4 separate regions of the Homo sapiens genome follow, and regions 1, 2 and 3 are each linked to region 4. The links are contacts of gene promoters, found by promoter capture Hi-C in blood cells and fetal thymus (Javierre and others, 2016). All regions are on one chromosome and are shown on one strand. Each heading gives the region's core, a stretch centred on a gene start or on the middle of the fragment in contact. The rest is flanking DNA. Distances are from core to core; before and after follow the strand shown.

What was found. Contacts are between HindIII fragments. The CHiCAGO score rates a contact against its expected background, and 5 or more counts as called.
Region 1: a fragment that was not itself captured here is called in contact with the fragment with the promoter of SSH2 in region 4 in 1 of 17 cell types (fetal thymus); the score reaches 6.2 in fetal thymus.
Region 2: a fragment that was not itself captured here is called in contact with the fragment with the promoter of SSH2 in region 4 in 15 of 17 cell types (megakaryocytes, M2 macrophages, M0 macrophages and 12 more); the score reaches 20.1 in megakaryocytes.
Region 3: a contact is called between the fragment with the promoter of GIT1 here and the fragment with the promoter of SSH2 in region 4, in 10 of 17 cell types (naive CD4 T cells, naive CD8 T cells, fetal thymus and 7 more). The highest score is 11.1, in naive CD4 T cells.

What each region holds. Positions count from the first base shown.
Region 1 is chr17:29,571,229-29,575,690 of GRCh38, forward strand. It overlaps TP53I13 (tumor protein p53 inducible protein 13), which reads left to right. Exons shown (of 7, transcript NM_138349.4): 4 at 363-491; 5 at 629-829; 6 at 914-1,469; 7 at 1,584-1,929. The coding sequence ends at 1,696. GIT1 (GIT ArfGAP 1) reads right to left here. Exons shown (of 20, transcript NM_014030.4): 17 at 4,402-4,462; 18 at 4,060-4,242; 19 at 3,851-3,914; 20 at 2,247-3,686. The coding sequence ends at 3,474. Among named protein-coding and RNA genes, the nearest start is that of TP53I13, 4.8 kb to the left of the region's middle. RefSeq lists a silencer at 1,663-1,732. The HindIII fragment of the contact is 5,000 bases long and covers 1-4,462 here.
Region 2 is chr17:29,637,068-29,641,656 of GRCh38, forward strand. The region is part of intron 14 of SSH2 (slingshot protein phosphatase 2); the gene reads right to left. It overlaps SSH2-AS1 (SSH2 antisense RNA 1), which reads left to right and starts at 2,434. Exons shown (of 2, transcript XR_001752823.2): 1 at 2,434-2,664; 2 at 3,594-3,834. It also overlaps the pseudogene RNU6-920P. RefSeq lists enhancers at 2,303-2,612, 2,484-2,778. The HindIII fragment of the contact is 2,200 bases long and covers 1,989-4,188 here.
Region 3 is chr17:29,587,533-29,592,571 of GRCh38, forward strand. GIT1 (GIT ArfGAP 1) reads right to left here and starts at 2,116. Exons shown (of 20, transcript NM_014030.4): 1 at 1,795-2,116. The coding sequence starts at 1,846. RefSeq lists enhancers at 398-1,297, 2,197-3,096 and silencers at 1,515-1,704, 1,965-2,444, 4,205-4,394. The HindIII fragment of the contact is 9,256 bases long and covers 1-4,467 here.
Region 4 is chr17:29,927,798-29,933,031 of GRCh38, forward strand. SSH2 (slingshot protein phosphatase 2) reads right to left here and starts at 2,431. Exons shown (of 16, transcript NM_001282129.2): 1 at 2,141-2,431. The coding sequence starts at 2,203. It also overlaps a transcript of EFCAB5 not described here. RefSeq lists silencers at 1,631-1,680, 2,191-2,470, 2,621-2,710, 3,444-3,613. The HindIII fragment of the contact is 8,919 bases long and covers 1-3,165 here.

The sequences.
Region 1 (4,462 bases), core at 718-3,217, 360 kb before region 4:
GATTGGATCGATGGTCTTCATTTGGGGGTTGCTTATGGCTTGGATTGTGGACCTGTAGAGCCATCGTTACACCTGCAGGGAAATATGGCTAGAGTGTGGTCTGAGTCTGGCAGGATTATCCAGGCATGCTGTGAGCTTTGAAGGGTGGCACTTGATGGAGAGGAAGGGTGAAAGGAACACTCAGAGGCAAGAGTGGGTACATGCCAATACCCAGGGCCCTTTGTCCTTTCCTGGGCCCTGAAGGTAGAAGAGCCATCCAGCTATCCTGGGAGTACCTTTAAACTGGTCCCCTGGATGGGAGAACTTGAGATTCTCTGGGAGGGCTCTGGGCCTGCTTTGATGTCTCTGTGCCTTTCCTCCAGGCTGAGGATGTCACCTTCCTCTACCACCCCTGTGCCCATCCCTGGCTGAAGCTCCAGCTTGCCCTCCTGGCCTATGCTTGTATGGCTAACCCTTCCCTCACCCCTGACTTCAGCCTCACGCAGGATCGGGTATGTAGCTGATGAAAGGCGCTTGCCTGGCCCTGGCAGAAGGCTATGGCCCCGTGTGCAGGGAATGGAAAATTCAAGGGTTTCCTCTTGTTTGTCCCCACCTTCCTCGTAGCTCTAACAGTTACCTCCTCTCGTAGCCCCTGGTGCTGACTGCATGGGGGCTGGCGCTGGAGATGGCCTGGGTAGAGCCAGCCTGGGCTGCCCACTGGCTGATGAGGAGGCGGAGGAGGAAGCAGAGGAAGAAGAAGGCATGGATCTACTGTGAAAGCCTTTCAGGGCCTGCTCCCTCCGAGCCAACTCCCGGTAGAGGGAGGCTGTGCCGAAGAGGGTGTGTGCAGGTGAGAGACGCTGGGCCCAGGCTTGTTGGCCCTCGGGTTCTCTGAGAGGGGCAGCAGGGTGATTGCTCTCTCTCCTCTCCTTAGGCCCTGGCTCTGGCCTTTGCTCTGCGGAGCTGGCGGCCCCCTGGCACAGAGGTGACATCTCAAGGGCCCAGGCAGCCCTCTTCTAGTGGTGCCAAGAGGCGGAGGCTGCGGGCTGCCCTTGGTCCCCAGCCCACTCGCTCAGCCCTGAGGTTTCCCTCTGCTTCCCCAGGGAGCTTGAAGGCCAAGCAGTCCATGGCGGGAATCCCTGGTAGGGAGAGTAATGCCCCATCTGTGCCCACTGTCTCCCTGCTGCCGGGGGCGCCTGGAGGCAATGCCAGCTCCAGGACAGAGGCTCAGGTGCCCAACGGGCAAGGCAGCCCAGGGGGCTGTGTCTGTTCAAGTCAGGCTTCCCCGGCCCCTCGCGCAGCAGCGCCTCCACGGGCAGCCCGGGGCCCCACCCCACGCACTGAAGAGGCCGCCTGGGCTGCCATGGCCCTGACCTTCCTGCTGGTGCTGCTCACCCTGGCCACGCTCTGCACACGGCTGCACAGAAACTTCCGACGCGGGGAGAGCATCTACTGGGGGCCCACAGCGGACAGCCAGGACACAGTGGCTGGTGAGGAGTTCCCTCCCTACCCTACCCGAGGCCCCCGCCCCACCTCGCGTCGCCCGCCGCCCCCCGTAGCTTCCCTGCCCTCCCGCCCTTGACTGCTCGGCGCCCGGCCCACAGCTGTGCTGAAGCGGAGGCTGCTGCAGCCCTCGCGCCGGGTCAAGCGCTCGCGCCGGAGACCCCTCCTCCCGCCCACGCCGGACAGCGGCCCGGAAGGCGAGAGCTCGGAGTGACGGCCTGGGACCTGCCACTGTGGCGTGCGGCTCCTCCCCGCGCCGCGAGGCCGCGACCTCTGCCACGTGGACCGCGCGCGGGGCGCTCCCTGGTGGCGATGGCGCGGCACTGGCCGAGCACTGCGGGGGCTTTCCTCCTTGTTGGTTGCTGAGTGGGCGGCCAAGGGGAGAAAAGGAGCCGCTTCTGCCTCCCTTGCCAAAACTCCGTTTCTAATTAAATTATTTTTAGTAGACTCTGGAGTTGAGCTTGTGCATCTGCCGCACAGAGACTCCCACCCGGACCCTCGTCCTAGGCCATGGAGGTGGTGTTTGAGGCAGCCCGCCCCCGCTGGCCAACCTGTCCCTGGACATGGGGCTTTAGGAATGTGCTCGTGGGAGGGTGGCGTTATCGTCATACATGTTAGCTTTGTTATTCGCAAACTAACTCTTCCACTAGACAGACGTTCCCAGCACAGGGGCTTCCCTAGGGCGGGGGTCCTGGGGCACTTGCAGTCACCCTTCATGTCTGCCACCTCCCTCCAGCCCCCATTCTCTAAGCATCAGAAACAGCTCATGGTCACTTCTTTATTTTTGATACAAATGTACATGACACGTCTTGACAGCCCACCCACCACCACACAGGTAGGGCCTGGCCCCCAGGGAAGAAGCGGGATGGGGAGAGAGCTGGTGGGTCCCACCGTCTGCCTCTCCAGCCTTCCCAGGCTGCAGCCAGGTTCCCAGGCCTCCAGAGGGTGGGACCACAGCAGGTGCAGGTAGTGATGGTGGGTGCTGGCCTTGCAGAGGTTACGGGGAGGGGACTCAGCTCCACAGCCACCAGCTGAGTCGGGGACCCCGGGGAGCCAGCCCCAGGCTCAGGTGCTCAGTCCTCCACCCTAGCCAGCACACATTCCCCCTCCACGCAGGAGCAGGAGGAGATGGAGGGAAGTGGTTTTTGATTTAAGTTCATAGAGAAGGGGCGAGAGTGGGGAGGGATCAGGGAGGCAGCTGGCAGGACCAAAACTGGCTACCCGGACAGTCCCTGGCTCCAGGTGGGGAAGGGAAGCTGATCCCCATGCTGGTCCCACTGCTCTGGTCCCCTCACCCCTCAAAACTCCAGATGGACCAGGCCTCCGGAACGGCACTGCCGCCCACACACTCAACACGCAGGCACGCGGGGGCACTCAGTTACCACAAAGTTAAAATTAAGGGGTGGGGAAGAAGAAAGAAAAAAAAAAAACAGACTTTCCAGTGTTTGCTGCTGGGGACCCCAGCACACAGGTTGGGGCCTGTGCCCTAGGCAGGGGCCATATGGCATTAAAGGGAGAGCAGCAAGGGGCTGGTGGCTACAGGGCAGGGACATCCATGGAGACTATGTACAAAGGAGGGGATGCCCCCGCTCAGCCCCCAGTAGGGCTGAACTGGCTCATGGGGGTGGGGCGCATGTACGGAGAGCTGCCCCACTTGGAGTGTCCCCACCTGCCCCTTTGCTGAGGGTGCCCTAGAAGGCGAGGGGCTGGGAGTGATGCCTTGCAGGCCCCTGCTCACTAGGAGGGGGGAGATGCTATATACAGAGGGGAGGTGCATGGAATGTGGGGGACAGAAGCTCCTGCCCCCCCACCTCCCCATCCTTAGGGGCTCGACAGGGGTGGGCACCAGGGCACCTGGCTGCCAGGGAGTGTGGCAGCACTAAGGGCACTTGTGCCAGTGGCTCTGTTGGGGTGGGGATTAATGTCTGGAGTGGCCCAGCTCCTATGGCCAGTGAGGTCCTAGGGTGCAGGTGAGGGTGTGGGGAGAGAGGTCACTGCTTCTTCTCTCGGGTGGTGATGGTGACCAGCTGCTTGGCAGCCTTGGCGATGTCATAGGCGCACTGGATCACCTGCTGAGTCAGCAGCTGGAAGTCCACTGGGGCGCCGGGCTCTGGGGGCACTGTCTTCCGGCACTCACTCTGCAGCCGGTAGGCGCTGGCGTTGAGCAGCCGCAGTGAGCTCCGCACTGGCTCCAGGGCTGGCCTCTGGAGGGGGCAGGAGTGAGGCTGGACCTTGGACTTTAAGCCACCAGCTGAGATCAGGGCCCAGTTTGTCTGTGTCTCCACCCAGGTAGCGATCAGATGGGATTCTCCACGCCTGCCCCAGCTCGAGGCCCTCCCACTCCTGGTCCTCTCTTTGGCCCCTGTACCTTTGGGAAGAGGGAGGCCATCTCGGTCACAGCCAAATGGATCTTCTCTGAGCAGGGCACGAAGCTGCGGGGAGAAGGGAGGCTATAAAGCAGGGGGCTCTCAAGGGAGGTTCCCAGGGACAGCAGAACCCAGGGCCCCTCATGCTCTCTGCAACACCCTAGAAGCCAACAGGAACTGCATCCCCCTCACCTCCCCCTCCACTCAGTACCTGTCATGCTTGAACTCCTGGGCTGCCCGCAACAGTTCCTGAATGTTCTTGGTGACCTGCTCTGTCTTCAAGATGACATCCTCTGTGCTGGGAAGCCCAGGATCTAGGTCTCCATCCAGGCTTTCCAGCTCTGGGTGGAAGTCTTCCTCTTTGCCCAGCTCTAGAAACCTCTTCCCTTCCAGCCTGAGGCCCAGGTCCAGAAAACAGAGACAAAGATACATATAGAGAAAGACACGTTCCAGCCTCGGAGCCGCCCGCCTTGGTCCTCACACACTGGGGGCCCTCTCAACCTCCCCGCCTCGGCATGTGAGCAGGCTGGACTGGAGACCCAGGGAGCCTCACCCCAGCAGTGGGTCCCCACTTTGCGTGTTCTCATAGTCACTGTCGGCTCCACTGCCGTGGC
Region 2 (4,589 bases), core at 1,839-4,338, 290 kb before region 4:
AACAAGCCCTCTCATATACTGGTAGGAGGAATGTGAATTCAGAATTTTTGTTTTTTGTTTTTTTCAGAGTCTCGCTTTGTTGCCTAGGCTGCAGTGCAGCGGCTTACTGCAATCTCTGCCTCCCAGGTTCAAGCAATTCTCCCACCTCAGCCTCCCGAGTAGCTGGGATTACAGGAACATGCCACCATGCCTGGCTAATTTTTGTATTTTTAGTAGAGATGGGGTTTCGCCATGTTGACCAGGCTGGTCTTGAACTTCTGACCTCGAGTGATATGCCCACATTGGCCCCCCACCACACCCAGCTGAACTGTAGATTTTAAAGACTGAAATCTGGCAATAGCTCTCCAAATTTAACCCTTTAACCAACAATTCTTCCTTAATACATTTTTCTTGGAGGAATACTACTACAAGTACACACAGATATCCATATGGCCAGGTAAGGTGGCTCACGCCTGTAATCTCAGCACTTCATGGGAGGCCGAGGCGGGCAGATCGCTTGAGCCCAGAAGTTCGAGACCAGCCTGGGCAACATGGTAAAACTCCATCTGTACAAAAATATAAAAAATTATCCAGGTGTGGTGGCGTATGACTGTAGTCTTAGCTACTCAGGGGGCTGAGGTGGGAGGATTGCTTGAACCCAGGAGGGTGAGGATGCAGTGAGCTGAGATTGTGCCACTGCACCCAGCCTGGGTGACTGAGTGATCCCTTGTCTCAAAAAAAAAATAAAAAATAAAAATAAAGAAAGATATATACAGATATTTACTGGCCGGCTGCCGTGGCTCATGCCTGTAATCCTAGCACTTTGGGAGGCTAAGGCGGGCGGATCGCTTGAGGTCAGGAGTTCGAGACCAGCCTGGCCAACATGGTGAAACCCCGTCTCTACTAAAAATACAAAAATTAGCTGGGAGTGGTAGCGGGCACCTGTAATCCCAGCTACTCGGGAGGCTGAGACAGGAGAACTCCTTGAACCCGGGAGGCAGAGGTTGCAGTGGGCCGAGATTGCACCAATGCACTCCAGCCTGGGTGACACAGCGAGACTCCATCTCAAATAAACAAACAAATAAACAAAAAAAGATATTTACTATGACACTATTTGTGATACTAAAAGATGAGACACCAAACAACAACAAAAAAGGATTTACATTATAATCCATACAACTATATGCTGTGGAGCTGTTAAAAGCTGTCAGGTCTACAGAAATCTTCTGTGGTAAGAAAAAAAAAAAACTAAAAGGAAAAAAAAAACCTGTCAGGTATTTTAGTGGAATGATATACAAGGTATACTATTCAGTAAAAAAAAAAACCTCAAACACATTTGAAATTAGTGTCTATGTTAGAATAATATAGGAAAAAATCTGGAGGAACATCACCAAACTGATAATAGTGATTCTTTCAAGAAAGGTAGAAATACTTCTGGGGAAGGCTTTTACTTTCTATATTTTACACACACACACACACACACACACACACACACACACACACACACACACACACAGAGACAGGGTATCACACTGCCACCAGGCTGGAGTGCAGTGAAACGATCAGAGCTCACTGCAGCCTCAACCTCCTGGGCTCAGGTGATTCTCCTGCCTCAGCCTCCTTTTAGTAGTAGCTGGGACTACAGGTGTTTGCCACCACGCCTGGCTGATTTTTTTATTTTTTATTTTTGTGGAGATGGGGGTCTCACTATGTTGCCCAGGCTGGTCTTGAACTCCTGGGTTCAAGTGATCCTCCTGCCTTGGCCTCAGGGATTATTGGAGTGAGCCACCAAGCCTGGCCTCTATATTTTTACAATTTTTGAATTTAAAAAATGGGCATGTTTAAAAATTATAATCAGAAAAAAACCTACTAAAATCAAAACATACAAGTAACACAAAGGGAATACTCTGTTGGAACCTATTACCAAGTCCTCATAACTAGGATGAAGAACTGATGGTAAGCATTCTGGAATCAGAAAGCAAAGGAACGGCTAGTAAATTTGGAGAGAAAGCTTAGTAACAGAATGAAGGGAACAGCATAAAGGATAGGCCCTTTCAGAAGAATCTCTGGGTAAAAATCATTAAGCTAAGGAGACACGTGGAAAAAGCAGGTGGGCCAAAGGAAGACTCCCCTCCATCACCATTTTATGAAAGAGGTCTGAGGTAGGGAGGAGATTTCATTTCAAACCACACACTCTTAAACAGTTCCCAAAACCCCAGCCAAAAAGAGAACGGTGGCCCTTTTGTTGGTCAGGTTCATCTGCCCAGGAAACAGGTCACTAAGTATGGTCCTTGGGGGTGTGGTCTCCATGACTTACAAGCTGATGAGGAGTTACCAAACCGCAGGGTGGAATGGGAAACTCAGCCCAAAACAACTTGCCCTGGGCTCCGGGCCACGCCTGGGCTCTGCCGAGTCATGCTCAGGCGCCTGCACTAATGTGACCCCCTGTTTGTTCTCAACTCTGCACCTGCTCTCAGCTCCCCCTGCCTGTCTGCTGCTTGGGTGGGGCTCTCTCTGACTCATGCCTGCACAGCAAAGGGGTGCTTTCCTGGGAAGGAGCAGGTCAATCTTTTTATGAAGACAAGCTGTAATCAATCAGCTGGGTATAAGATGGGGTTTTCACCCTTTCCAAGCTGCATGAGCTCCAGCCACCCCTAGGAGGAGACAACATATCACGCATCTCAAGTGAGTGGCTGTGGGGAGGGGCAAGCTGACTGTTTGGATAGGTGGGGCCTAAGTTGTACATTATGACCAACTGAGGCCAGTGGTTTCCTTTTAAAGTTTCTTCTCTTATATGCAGACATCCTTGTTTCCTGAAATAAATATGAGTGTATTCCCCAATTTCTATCCCTCACCTATCATGAGGATGTTCAAACCTGCACCAGCTTCTCTCACCCACCATAGTAGGACAATGCCTGGGATGCAAATCACTGGGAAGACCTCTCAGGGGGTGGCTGTTTTCACTCTTCTAATAACAGAACAGGCAAAATGAGAAGTTTAATGATCCCAAGAATCCTCCAAAGTATGTTTTTTTTTTGTTTTTTTTTTTTGAGACGGAGTCTCGCTCTGTCACCCAGGCTGGAGTGCAGTGGCGCGATCTCGGCTCACTGCAAGCTCCACTTCCCGGGTTCACGCCATTCTCCTGCCTCAGCCTCCTGAGTAGCTGGGACTACAGGCACCCGCCACCACGCCTGGCTATTTTTGTATTTTTAGTAGAGACGGGGTTTCACCGTGTTAGCCAGGATGGTCTCCATCTCCTGACCTCGTGATCCGCTTGCCTCAGCCTCCCAAAGTGCTGGGATTATAGGCGTGAGCCACCACGCCCGGCCCCTCCAAAGTATGTTTTTTAAACTGCCTGCAGATCACTAATCAGTCAGGAGAGAATGAGAGACTGAAGTTATGCTAATAGGCAGCAACAGTGCATGTTTCAGAGGAAGTCTGACATCGCAGCTGTGTAACCAGCAGGGATTTCCTTCTCTTCCTTGGGGAGAAAATCATCAGAAAATACTGGGCCAGGGCTCTGGAATTAAACTGACACTTGTAAAAGAGAGAGAAAAAAAAAACAATCTAAAGATAGGTCTGATGCTGCTGCCTTGTTTTCATTTTTGCAATAGGACCTGGAGGGAGAATGGCAAGCAGCTGATTCATCTCCATTGCCTGTGAAACACTGCTACTCCACGTGTCACTTCTCACTCAGGGGTCCCCTCCTCACTCCTCCCTACTCAAGGGTAACCTCCATCCTGAATTTTGTGCTTATCATTCCCTTTTTTTTTCTTTATAGTGTCAACATGTTTTGTTCCTAATACTGCTTTGTTTTGCATGTCTTGAACTTTATATAAATGGTATCCCACTGTATATATTCTTCACCAATGGATTTTTTTTTTAAAGATTCATCACTGTGTATAAAGGTAATCCACAGAGTGTAATGAGTATGCCACAATTTATTTCCCTTCTGTTGGTTCAAGCAATTCTCCTGCCTCAGCCTCCAGAGTAGTTGGAATTATAGGCATGCGCCACCATGCCTGGCTAATTTTTGTATTTTTAGTAGACACAGGGTATCACCATGTTGGACCAGGCTGGTCTCAAACTCCTGACCTCAAGTGATCTGCCCGCCTCGGCCTCCCAAAGTGTTGGCATTACAGATATGAGCCACCACGCCTGGCCTCATCATGTTTTAGTCGGTTACACTAAACTGTTTTTTTCCAATGAAGCTTTGTCCTGAGACAGTTTATTCTAACACTTCATCACTGGTAGGAATAGATGTAATGTATTAGATCATATCTATTATTTTAAACTATTAAATTTTAAACTCGGCCGACTCCCCACCTCCCACCCCCTTCCAGGCAGGCAGCAAATAAACAGCTTGCCAAAAAGGAACTTCAGAGTTGGTCTGTATCCTGGATGATATAACCAAGTCTCAGATCCTTTTCCCCCTTGAGTGGCCTCTGACCTGAATTTGGATTCATATAAAGACACAGACATACATAAGGTGATGAGGTCATTCTGGGAAATAATTGGCCTTTTACCTAGTTAATGAACAAGAGGAAATTTTATTTTTATTTTTAAATATTTTTAAGTTGTCAGCCTTGTGTAGGGGCCATGCCAATCTT
Region 3 (5,039 bases), core at 866-3,365, 340 kb before region 4:
ACCATTCCTCCCTGAGCCCACTGGGCATCCAGAGGCTGTGGTCGGACATTCAACGCAACATACAAAGGACAACTGCCTTGCTGGTGCTGCCCTTCACCCCTCCACCCCAGAATCAGACCACAGATTCGGAGATGGCAGCCCCCCAAAAACCATTTCTACTCCAACTTCTTTGCCTCTGAATTGAGGAAGCTGAGGACCCCACAGTGAGGAAAGTCTTGTTGGGATTACAGAGTAAGCTGGGAACAAAGGCAACACTAAGCCCCAGACTCCCCCGATTGGGCGCCTGCTAAGACTCTCCTCCACATTCCATGCCATGCTTACCCCACGGAGTTGTGGAACAGTGGGGAGACATTTATAAGGCAAGGTGCATCCTCAGCCCTGCCATCCCCAGACCTGCCTGCAGCTCGGGGAACGGAGTCACAGTTTCTTAGGGGTATGGACCCTCAACCCCAGGGCCCTCTAAACCATGATAAGCCCCTAGGAGGCCTTGGTCATAACCACCTATGGAGTATTTTGTGCCCAAGCCCTGCTAAGTCATAGTTCCCAAATACTCTAGCTTGGCACCCCCAGAACCACCAGAGCATCTGTGAGGCTCAACCGGTGGGGTCCTGGGCCTGCTCAAGGGGTGGCTGAAAGTTATGGGCCCACAAACCAGCACCCCATACTCTCACTCTTAATCATGCCCACAGCCCCGCTAGAGTTCACGGACCTCCGCAGCCTGCCCAGGGGCCTACCAGGGAGATAGCTCCTTTGCTAAAGAAAGAATGGATGTGGGCTAGAGCTTCCTTCCCAGGCCAGCTGCAGAGCCCCGTCACTGGCTGTCCTCCCTCATCAGAAGGGAGCAGCCTCTTGGATCATTACCCCTGACTTCCTCAGCAGGCCTGGGGGGTTTCACTCCAGCCCAGTCCTAACTCTGTTAGGAAAAGGAAGGGAACCACCATGTAAATACAGCCAGGAGACAGGCCAGGAAGCCAGCAGGATACGGGGAATCTCGGCACGGCCTCCCACCCATTTCTGGCCAGACTGGGCTAGGGGACAGGGAGGGGCCCGCACCCAGGATAGCTTGATGCCAAGCTCACTTTCCCAAGCAGGCCTTACCGGTGAACAGGAACAGCAGGGTCCAGCCGAGCTGTTCCCAGTCACCACCAGCAGGCCTGGGGATGCCTCCCGAGAAGACACCCGGGTCTAGACTGGCCCTGAACGCCAGGCCCGGCAAGGAGCGCTAGCCTTAGGAACCCGAGGCAGGGAGTCCTGGGAGTAGCCACCGCTCATCTGCTCCTGAGGAGACGGTATTCAGGCCCCACTGGCGCATCTGCCCGGCCCTCTGCTCCTTGCCCTCCACCACCCCGGCAGGCGTACCGACCACGCGAGCAGCAGGTGCAAGACGCGGGGGTGGCACTGAGATGACATAAAACCACACTCGCCCCCACCTCCCAAGCCCTGACGGCCTCCGCCACGGCCCTCCTGCCACCCCAGGCTGGCGCTTCCGTCGGATACAGAGATGGAGGTGGAGGAGCAGCCAGCTGCCCGCCTCCCTCAGACCGAGGAGCGGGAGGCGGCGCCGGGAACGTCCTTCCTCGCTAGTCCACGGCCTCCAGGGAGCATGGGCACCCCAGGCCGGCCCTCCCGCCAAGGGCGCAGCTCCGCAGTGGCCGAGGCGGGGGCCCAGCCTGGAGGCCGCAGCCCCCCGCCCCGCCCAGCCCTCCGGCCCCGCACAGCGCTCTTGCCAGGCCCCGGCGCCCGCCCGGCGGCGGCCTGGCTGTGCGGTCCCGCCCCCGGCCCCGCCGCGCTTACCCGGGGCGCTGCAGTCCGCACACACCTCCGCTCGCGGCCCCTTTCGGGACATCCTCAGCGGCGACGCGGCCGCAGCCCTCTGGGCCAGCGTGGGGGGCGCGGGCGGCGGGCCCGGGCGGCGGCGGCGGCCCCTGCTGCCCGGCCCGGCTCCGGCGAGGCCCCGGCGAGGCTCCGCGCGCCCGGCCAACCGTCCGCCCCGGGGCTGGCCCGGAACCCGCCGTGCCCGCCTGCCCGCTCGCCCTCGGGCGCCCTCCGCCCCGCGCCGCCCCGCCGCCGCTCGCGGCTCCTCTCTCCGCCCCCTGCGCGGCTCCCGGCCGCTTCTGCAGGAAGCGGCGCAGGCCCTGCCCACAGGGGGAGGGGCCGCACCCCCGCCCCGCCGCGCGCTGCCGGCCGCGCCCCCTAGAGAAAGGAAGCCCGGGCGCGGGCAGGAGGGGGCGGGGGCGCTTAAAGGGGCCGCGGCAGATGCCCGGCCCCGGCGGGCAGCGTGGCCTGCGGCCCTGGCCTCCGCTGCAGCGCTCGCCTGGCCCGGAGGCAATGTGAGTCACCCTCACAGCCCCCTCCCCTTCACTTTCCGCGTGGGGTGGACCGGGGGACGCTGGGCCCACGGACGGCGAGGGTGGGGATTAGGGAAGAAGGACTTGGAGGCCCAAGTCCCGCTCCAGGTCAAAGGGGCTGTGCCTTGGGGTACCCGTCTATCTCTGGTTGGGGTGAGGTGTGCGTCCCTGTCCCGTAGGTGTCCACATCTGTGTGTCCAGGGGTGTGTGTGTATGTGTCACACTCTTGCTGAATACGCCCACTGCTAACAATATGGACGCCCAGGTGCCAGAAAGGTCAGGCAGTGTATTCCCCTGCCTCCGGACTAAAAATATATCTATCTCTCCATGCATCCTTCCATCCAGAGAGGAGAGAATCTGGGCGGTTTTTAAAGACCTCCCGAGGAGTGACCACTGTGCCTGTGTGCACTCACATCCACTTGTCATCCGCCTTACACACACCCACGGTGTTTCTGGGCCACCAGAGGTGTGTGTGTCCAGAAAGGGTGCATATAACATAGAGGGGCCGTTTCAGGTGACGGCCTTTCTTCCTGGACTTCACACGACGAGGCAGGCAAAGGCAAGGCAGGTGAGGGACGTGGGTGGGCTGGGGGGCAGGGAGCCTAGGTAGAGGCCGCACATGAGCGCAGCCCCCGCACTGAGCATGCGCCCCCATACGCGTGTGCCGCGCGTGTACCCAACCCCCAATCCCTGCAGCAGCAAAAGGCCCGGGCACTCTGCTTGTGGGGAGAGGGTAGAGGTCCCCAGGGCCAGACCTGGGGGCCAGGTCAGTGGTGACAATTGAGGAGGGGTTCTCCAAGAGTCAGAGACTCCTGCTTGTTAAGATGGGGGCAGTCCTTTGGCAGGGGTGCTCAAGTTGGTCGATTATCCCAACGGTGCCAGAGCGGCAGTGATTTGTGGGTGGGCAGGCTCCTTCCCTAGGGGAGACAAGTAATGCTCATGAGTCACACCACCCGAAATACATGCAAAGCTGCCTCCATCGCCTTTTGCTGCGGCCCAGATTGACAAGTTTGTTTGAAATCGCGATCCATGGGCTTTATTTATAATTGCACCTTAAAAAAATCTTGCAGGCCTCCCCTCCCTCGACAGCCAGCCGCTCAGCTGGTGGGGCTTTTGCAAGCAACGATACCTAGCTGGTGTGTAGGGGGGAGCACCACCTGCCGCCCCGAGCTGCTCTCTCACCAGAGTCCATGGGCTTGGTGGCCTCAGCGGGAAGGGGGTAAGGGGCGGGGGGAGTGAGACGGGAGGAGTGGCCAGGCAGCCCGTGCCAGGCGCTCAGTCCACGAGCGGTGGCCGCCCGTTCACCCCCGATCGACCCCCAGCTATGGAATTTCATTTATTAAATGTCGAGGAGGCTGCTGGCAGCCCTGCCGCTTGGCTGTCTTTGTTTCTCCGCTGTGTGGGCGCGTCTCGAGCACGTGGCAGCTGAGAGCGCGGGCCGAAGCGCAAGCGACCTGGGTTCAGTGTCTACCGCCGCCTGGCAAAAAAAGAACACGGCCGCCCAGGGGACAGTTCCCCACAATCGACAACTCCCCACAATCCATCCTGAACTCCCCCTGTCCTCGGACTCCTGGGCTTTGCTGGGGAAGAAGGATGATTCACTCTGCTTACCCCTCCACCCCACTCCCCATCTCCTGGTTGGCTCAGAGACTACCTGGGAGTGGCCCTGGCGCGGACACATCGTCCAAACTTTGTTTCCCCCAGCCCCGTCACAGCCAAACTTCTGGGCCTGGGACTGGAGATAAAAGGGTTTCTGGATTCCCCCGTGGAGATGTCACCACCCCAGGAAGCAGGACTGCTACAGTGGAATCACACACAAGGTTCGAAAAACAATTTAATAAGGAAATGCACAGGCATGCTCCCGGCCACTCCTAGATGCCCCTCAACCGCGCCAGCCCCCTCCCCTGCACTGGCTGCAGCCACGACACTCTGCTGACCCCTGGTGGTGCAGGCGGGCAGCGGTCCCGGGCCCCCGGAGACGCCAGCTGGCTCCTCCCAGGCGGGAGAAAGGGGCGAGGCAGCCCGCTCCTCCCTCATCTCTTCCCGCTGGGGCCTGGCACCACAGGGTGTGGAGGAGGAAGGAGGGAAGACCACACAAAGAAACCTGAGAGAGTTTGCAAGCTTTTGCTGGCACCTCCCACACAAACACTTCTTGGATTGTTGTTTTAAGTAGGGCCGGTGTGGAATCCCTTATTCCTGCCTTGTTCTGAGGTGGGCTCAAGAAGGCACCGTGCCTGGTCCCGCCACCTGTCTCGGCCCGCCTGGTTGGGGGAGGGAGGCGCTGTTTCCAGGGCAGTCATTATCCTTAGCTCACCCCAGGAGGTAGTATCTAGATTCTCATTTTGAAGGGGAGTGGACCGAGAAAGTCGGAAAAATTAAGCAGTTTGCTCTTTTAAGGTCAGGCAGTTGGAGCTATTCGAACTCTGGTCTCTCTGACATCACAGTCCCCTCCCTCCAGGGACTGGTCCAAGCCTCTTGGTCCTTCCAGGCCTTGCAATTGGCGCTTGAGAGGCCAATTCAACTTTTACCACACCCTCTGCAGGGACCATTCTGGAAGTACCTCTTCACCCTGGGGTCATTCAGGAAGGAGACAGTCTCTGGAATCAGTCACTTCCCTTCCTGAAGGGCCAGCTGGGTGGAGGAACGGAGCTGCCACCTGCTGCTTTTTCTGTCCAACCTCACTCTGGTTCT
Region 4 (5,234 bases), core at 1,181-3,680:
TCCTTTGCATTCAGGGCCAAGTATAAACAACTGAAATAACCAGGCTAGTAGATATAGAAATATTAGTGATTTTGCTCAACAACTGAGCTTATTACATGATCAATTTAATTACCTATGTCAAAAGTGACTATTAACATACCTCAAGATTCTAAAGTAACTCAAGTTTTGGCTAATGAAGTCATATCAAGTGTACACGGTCTTACTGTATACTAATCATTCACTTCAAGTAAATTAGTATGATGACAACTTGATATACATATATTATCATAGCATAAGCTATTTTCAACAGTGCCCAAGGAAAATAAATGTTACTATAGTACTGATTTCTAGTTTATTTGCATGACTCTACTAACTTTCAATCGATTTCTTCAAAATCAGGCCTAGTAACCACAAACCAAAGAGTTTACTAGTGGAGTGAATTAAGAAGGTTTGATGGTATGTTAATGACTTTCCAAAAACTAGCATAAAGTACTACACATAAGAATAAATTATATTAAAGATTTATTCCTATGATACTTGTCTTCAGATGACCCTAAAATGTTTTACCAGCTTTGAAGTACAAGTATTCTCAAATCACAAAATCTTAGATTAGAAATAGTCTTAGAAGTCCCCCACTGCAGGAATTCTTTATACCACCTCCCAGGCAAAATGTTCTCCAGCCTTTGCTTGAATATTTCCAGCAATGTGCACTCACTATTTTGCAAGGCAGTGCACTCCACTGTTACAAATTCTTCCTTACAATCACTGGAAATCTGCCTCCCTGAACCAAGAATCCCAGTTCTGCTCTCTGAAACAACACAAGATATATAACCTTTGAAATAAAATCACTTATTAAGATATAGTTGTCAATTTCATCACACAAAATGCAATTAAAGCTCAGAAAAGAAGAAACCACAACCATACACAACAAAACTTTGAAATTCAGGAAATTATACTGAAATGACAAGCCAGCAAATTTCAGGATATCAAAGCTCACACCTCAGTTAACATACAAATATTAAGGGTAACCTGATGATTTTTTTACAGTGGAAAGTGGTACAGTGTTTATTAAATACCTTTTTTTGCAACCTGATACTACCAAATCCACCAACACCGTTTTTAAAATTACAGTTCTGTAGGAAGTTCAAGGTGGTTTTCCCAGTTGCTCGCATTTTCACTCAGTTTATTTCTCTCTAAAACATCTGGATGTTGGTTTTTTAAAGCCCATTTGCCCCACTGGTGCAATATATTGTTTTTAAAAATAAATATTTTCAAAAATGGAGCCTAAGAGAATGGAGTGTAAACGAATGGGGGTGGGGCGAGGAGAGAAGGCAAAGACGGGCCCAGCGGGGAAAGGCTGGTTACTGGGTATTTTCCTTCTGAGAGCATGCTTTATTGGCATAGGCATCTGAGGTAACGAGCCATACAAACACGACCTTAGAACAAGAATGATCACGAGCAATGAGTGTAAGGCATAAATATCTGTAAGACGGAAATAATTTGACACTGATCACTAAGCAGCACCAGATGCTTCGGGACCTCATAAAGGAAAGGTAAGAGGTCCAGGAAACAGAGATCATTGCTACCCTCTGGGGTGGGGGGCAGGCGGGAGAAACCAAGGAATAACTACGGTTGGGCAGTTCAAAGCCTGAACAGTACAGAGCAAAAGAAAGCCAGCAAGTGACTAGGGGAAGGCACACACCCTGGCGAGTACGAAGAAGGGTGTGCAGTGTGCAAATACTGAACAGGTCTATGAAATGGTGTGGGTAAGAGATGTGGGTGTGGGTAAGGGGCAACGCAGGAGGCTCACGGTCCCCTCCCTGCAGCAGAGCAACAGAGGGTAAAAGAAGGGGGAGGGTGAAAAGCAAGAATGACTCATTACCAAAAGGAAGTGCTCAAGCCATAGGGAGGCATGCCACAGGGGATTTCAGGGCGAGGATTGTGAGGAGCTAGGTGCTCAGGGTGATGGGGGCAAAAATCAACGTCTTGTAGTTCCTGCTGCTAGTCTTTAACATGGGGGTGTGGGGGGGTTCGCGGCAGCCGAGTGCCAAGGCCTGGGAAGCGGCGCGGCGCGTGCGCAGTGGCGTTCGGCGGGACCCGCTGAGGCAAAGCGGAGCCGCAGTGACAGAAGCAAGCGGAGCGGCCGCCAGGAAGGACTCACCGAGGCGCAGGGGCTGGAGGTGGTGCTGGGGGTAGGTGACCGCTGGACCGTGACCAAAGCCATCTAGGCGCTGCTGGGTTGTTCCGGGCAGGGCATTCTTGTCCTGAGTGTGGGGGACGGGAGGGTGACGGAGCCGGGATGGGGAAAGGGGTGCGGGGTGGGGGTGAAGGGAACGGGGAGGAGGAGGAGGCCGCGGGAACGGCCGCAGACTCCGCACCCACCACCAGACTGTCGCCGACTGACGCTCCGAACGGGCGGCGGGCGGGCGGTTCCGCAGCTGCGGGGCACAATGAGCGCTCCCAGTGCGCAGGCGCCACCTGTCAGCTACCGCCTCTCCCCTCGGCGCGCGCCGCCGCCTGGTCGTAACCCTTGAGTTGCCGGAAGCTGGCCGAGTGCGTGCGCCTCGGGCCGCCGCACCCTCCTGGGTTTCCTCCTTCGTGCTGGAATCGCGCGGTTTGCCAGCACTGGGTGCTGTGGAGTGGGGTGGGGGAAGGGGCCGAAGGGAGCCAGCCCGGTGAGGGGTCCCAGGGCGGGGGGCCGCTGGAGTCTTCACTCCTGAGAGACAACCATTTTATGAGGTGGGGCGGCGCACAGCTTAACCAACCTTAAAAAAAAGCAGCTGAGATGAAAATCCTGAAGCAAACACGTTTTCTATTGGGAAAGGGCTCCGCGGAGTTTCAAACCCTCTCACTGGGCGCAGACAGAACTGGGCTAGACCAGTTTACTCCCTTCACCCCGGCTCTCGGGGGCTTTTTCTTAACTTTTCCCCCCCTTCCGTCTATGTTTTATGATGAGACTTCTGGAAAGAAAACCATTTTCCGTTTGATACCCTGGAAAGGTTTGTGGTACCCTCATGCTTCCTCTATTGCCTGTCTAAAGACTTATTCATTATTCCTGAGGAGAAGAGAAGCTGAGCGCGCCTGGGAGTCCGAGGAAGCCGGTTGTGAGGGTCCAGCCTGCTATTGACCTCTCACTTGCCTCCTGCTGTGAAGACAGTCTTTTAATTAAACAGGATTTGCTCGTTAAGCTTTCTTCTCCTTCGTCTCTAAATGTCATTCTTTCATAGACCTATGTAAAAATGTAGATTAAAAGATATTTTAAGGGAATGGTTTTCTCAGGGGTAAATTGTCTGCAGAACATAAGCAAAGAATGTAATGGAAAATCAAGATTAAAAAGGAAAAAAATTGCACAATGCAAATATCACTGATTATTTACACAAAGAAAGAGAGTTGACAAGGCTATTTCTCAGCTTGAGTGGATGAGCTGGTAAATACCACCGTACATATCAAAGCTGTAGAAAACACACACACTTGGGAGTTTGCAGTTATTAAAACCCACCCCCTCCTGTTTGTCACTCAAACACTCTTGGATCTCATTGCTTCTTTTAAACTGACAGGGCTGTCATGAGCTCTTTCTGGCTGCTGTACGGTTAAACGCCACAAGAGTCCTCTGTGCTGAGCCTTTGTTCTCTCCCTGGGGCCCTGTGGTTGAAATAATTAGCAGGGAGGTTCCATCAAGAATCAGACACTGAGGGTCCCTGTACTGTACAGTCCTATGTAGAGTGTAGTGCAGAGAAGCCAGCTGGTAGGCTTTTGCCCCCTGGTGGTGATCAGGAGTGCCTGTGAGACAAAATTAAACAAAGATGTATGGTTCACAGATTAAACAATCTGACTGTGTTTTCCCCAGAGCTCCGTAGTAAACAGGAAAAGAGAAGGCAAGTTTCAGAAGTAAGAACTTTGAACCAATGCATGGGAGACCAAAGAGGAAACTAGATACATAGCCAAAAAATACACATAGCTAGAAGCTGAATGAACTCAAATAAATGAAATATATGTGCTTTATGAACCAAAGTATCATTCTAGAAAAAGTAATATTCAAATCTGTAGGTCTTAGTACTTGTATGTTGATTCTCTGACTCAGGGAGGGCAACAATGATGTTCTACTTTTTCATGGTAACATACTCTTCAGAAATTCTTTTGGAAGATGAAAGGCTTAAGTCCATTAACCTTGCAGTGAGAAAGAGCACTACCATAGGAATCAGAAGACCTGGTTTCTAGTTCCAGCTCTAAAACCTTATGCAAATGGCTTGAACTTTTTGAGCTTTAATTCCTTTATCTCTACAATGGAACCCTAACTGACAAGATTCTTGAGATAATGTATGGTAAAGTTCAGAATAAACTGTAAATAAAGCCCTCTATGCAATTAAGATAACTTTTTTTTTTTTTTTTTTTGAGACGGAGTCTCCCTTTGCCACCCAGGCTGGAGTGCAGTGGTGCAATCTCGGCTCACTGCAACCTCCGCCTCCCGGGTTCAAGCAATTCTCCTGCCTCAGCCTCCCGAGTAGCTGGGATTACAGGGGCCCGCCACCACACCCGGCTAGTTTTTATATTTTTAGTAGGGACGGGGTTTCACCGTATTGGCCAGGCTGGTCTCGAACTCCTGTCCTCAAGTGATCTGCCCACCTCGGCCTCCCAAAGTGCTAGGATTACAGATGTGAGCCACTGTGCCCGGCTTTTTTTTTTTTTTTTTTTTTTTGACACGGATTTTTGCTCTTGTTGCCCAGGCTGGAGTGCAATGGCACCATCTCAGCTCACTGCAACCTCCACCTCCCGGGTTCAAGCTATTCTCCTGTCTCAGCCTCCTGAGTAGCTGGGATTACAGGCATGTGCCACCACGCCCGGCTAATTTTATGTCTTTTTAGTAGATATGGGGGTTTCACCATGTTGGTCAGGCTGGTCTCGAACTCCTGACCCCAGATGATCCACCTGCCTTGGCCTCACAAAGTGCTGGGATTACAGGTGTGAGCCCCCGCACCCGGCCATCATTCTTTTTCTTAATAGTAGAAGTAGATTAGTGGTCAAGACATGTTTCATCTGTAGGTAAGTGTGGAACATTTTTGTTCCACATATCTAAGGTGATAAAATCCTGATCAAAATTGAATTATGGGATGACAAAATTCACATTGTTTGTATCAGGAAGTTAATTTATTAATTTTCAGGGGAAATATCTCTTCCTGGTATATACCTTTTAAGGAAACTAAGATTTGGAAATTATTGGTGCATGTTCATTAATTTATTTACTAATAATTGAGAAA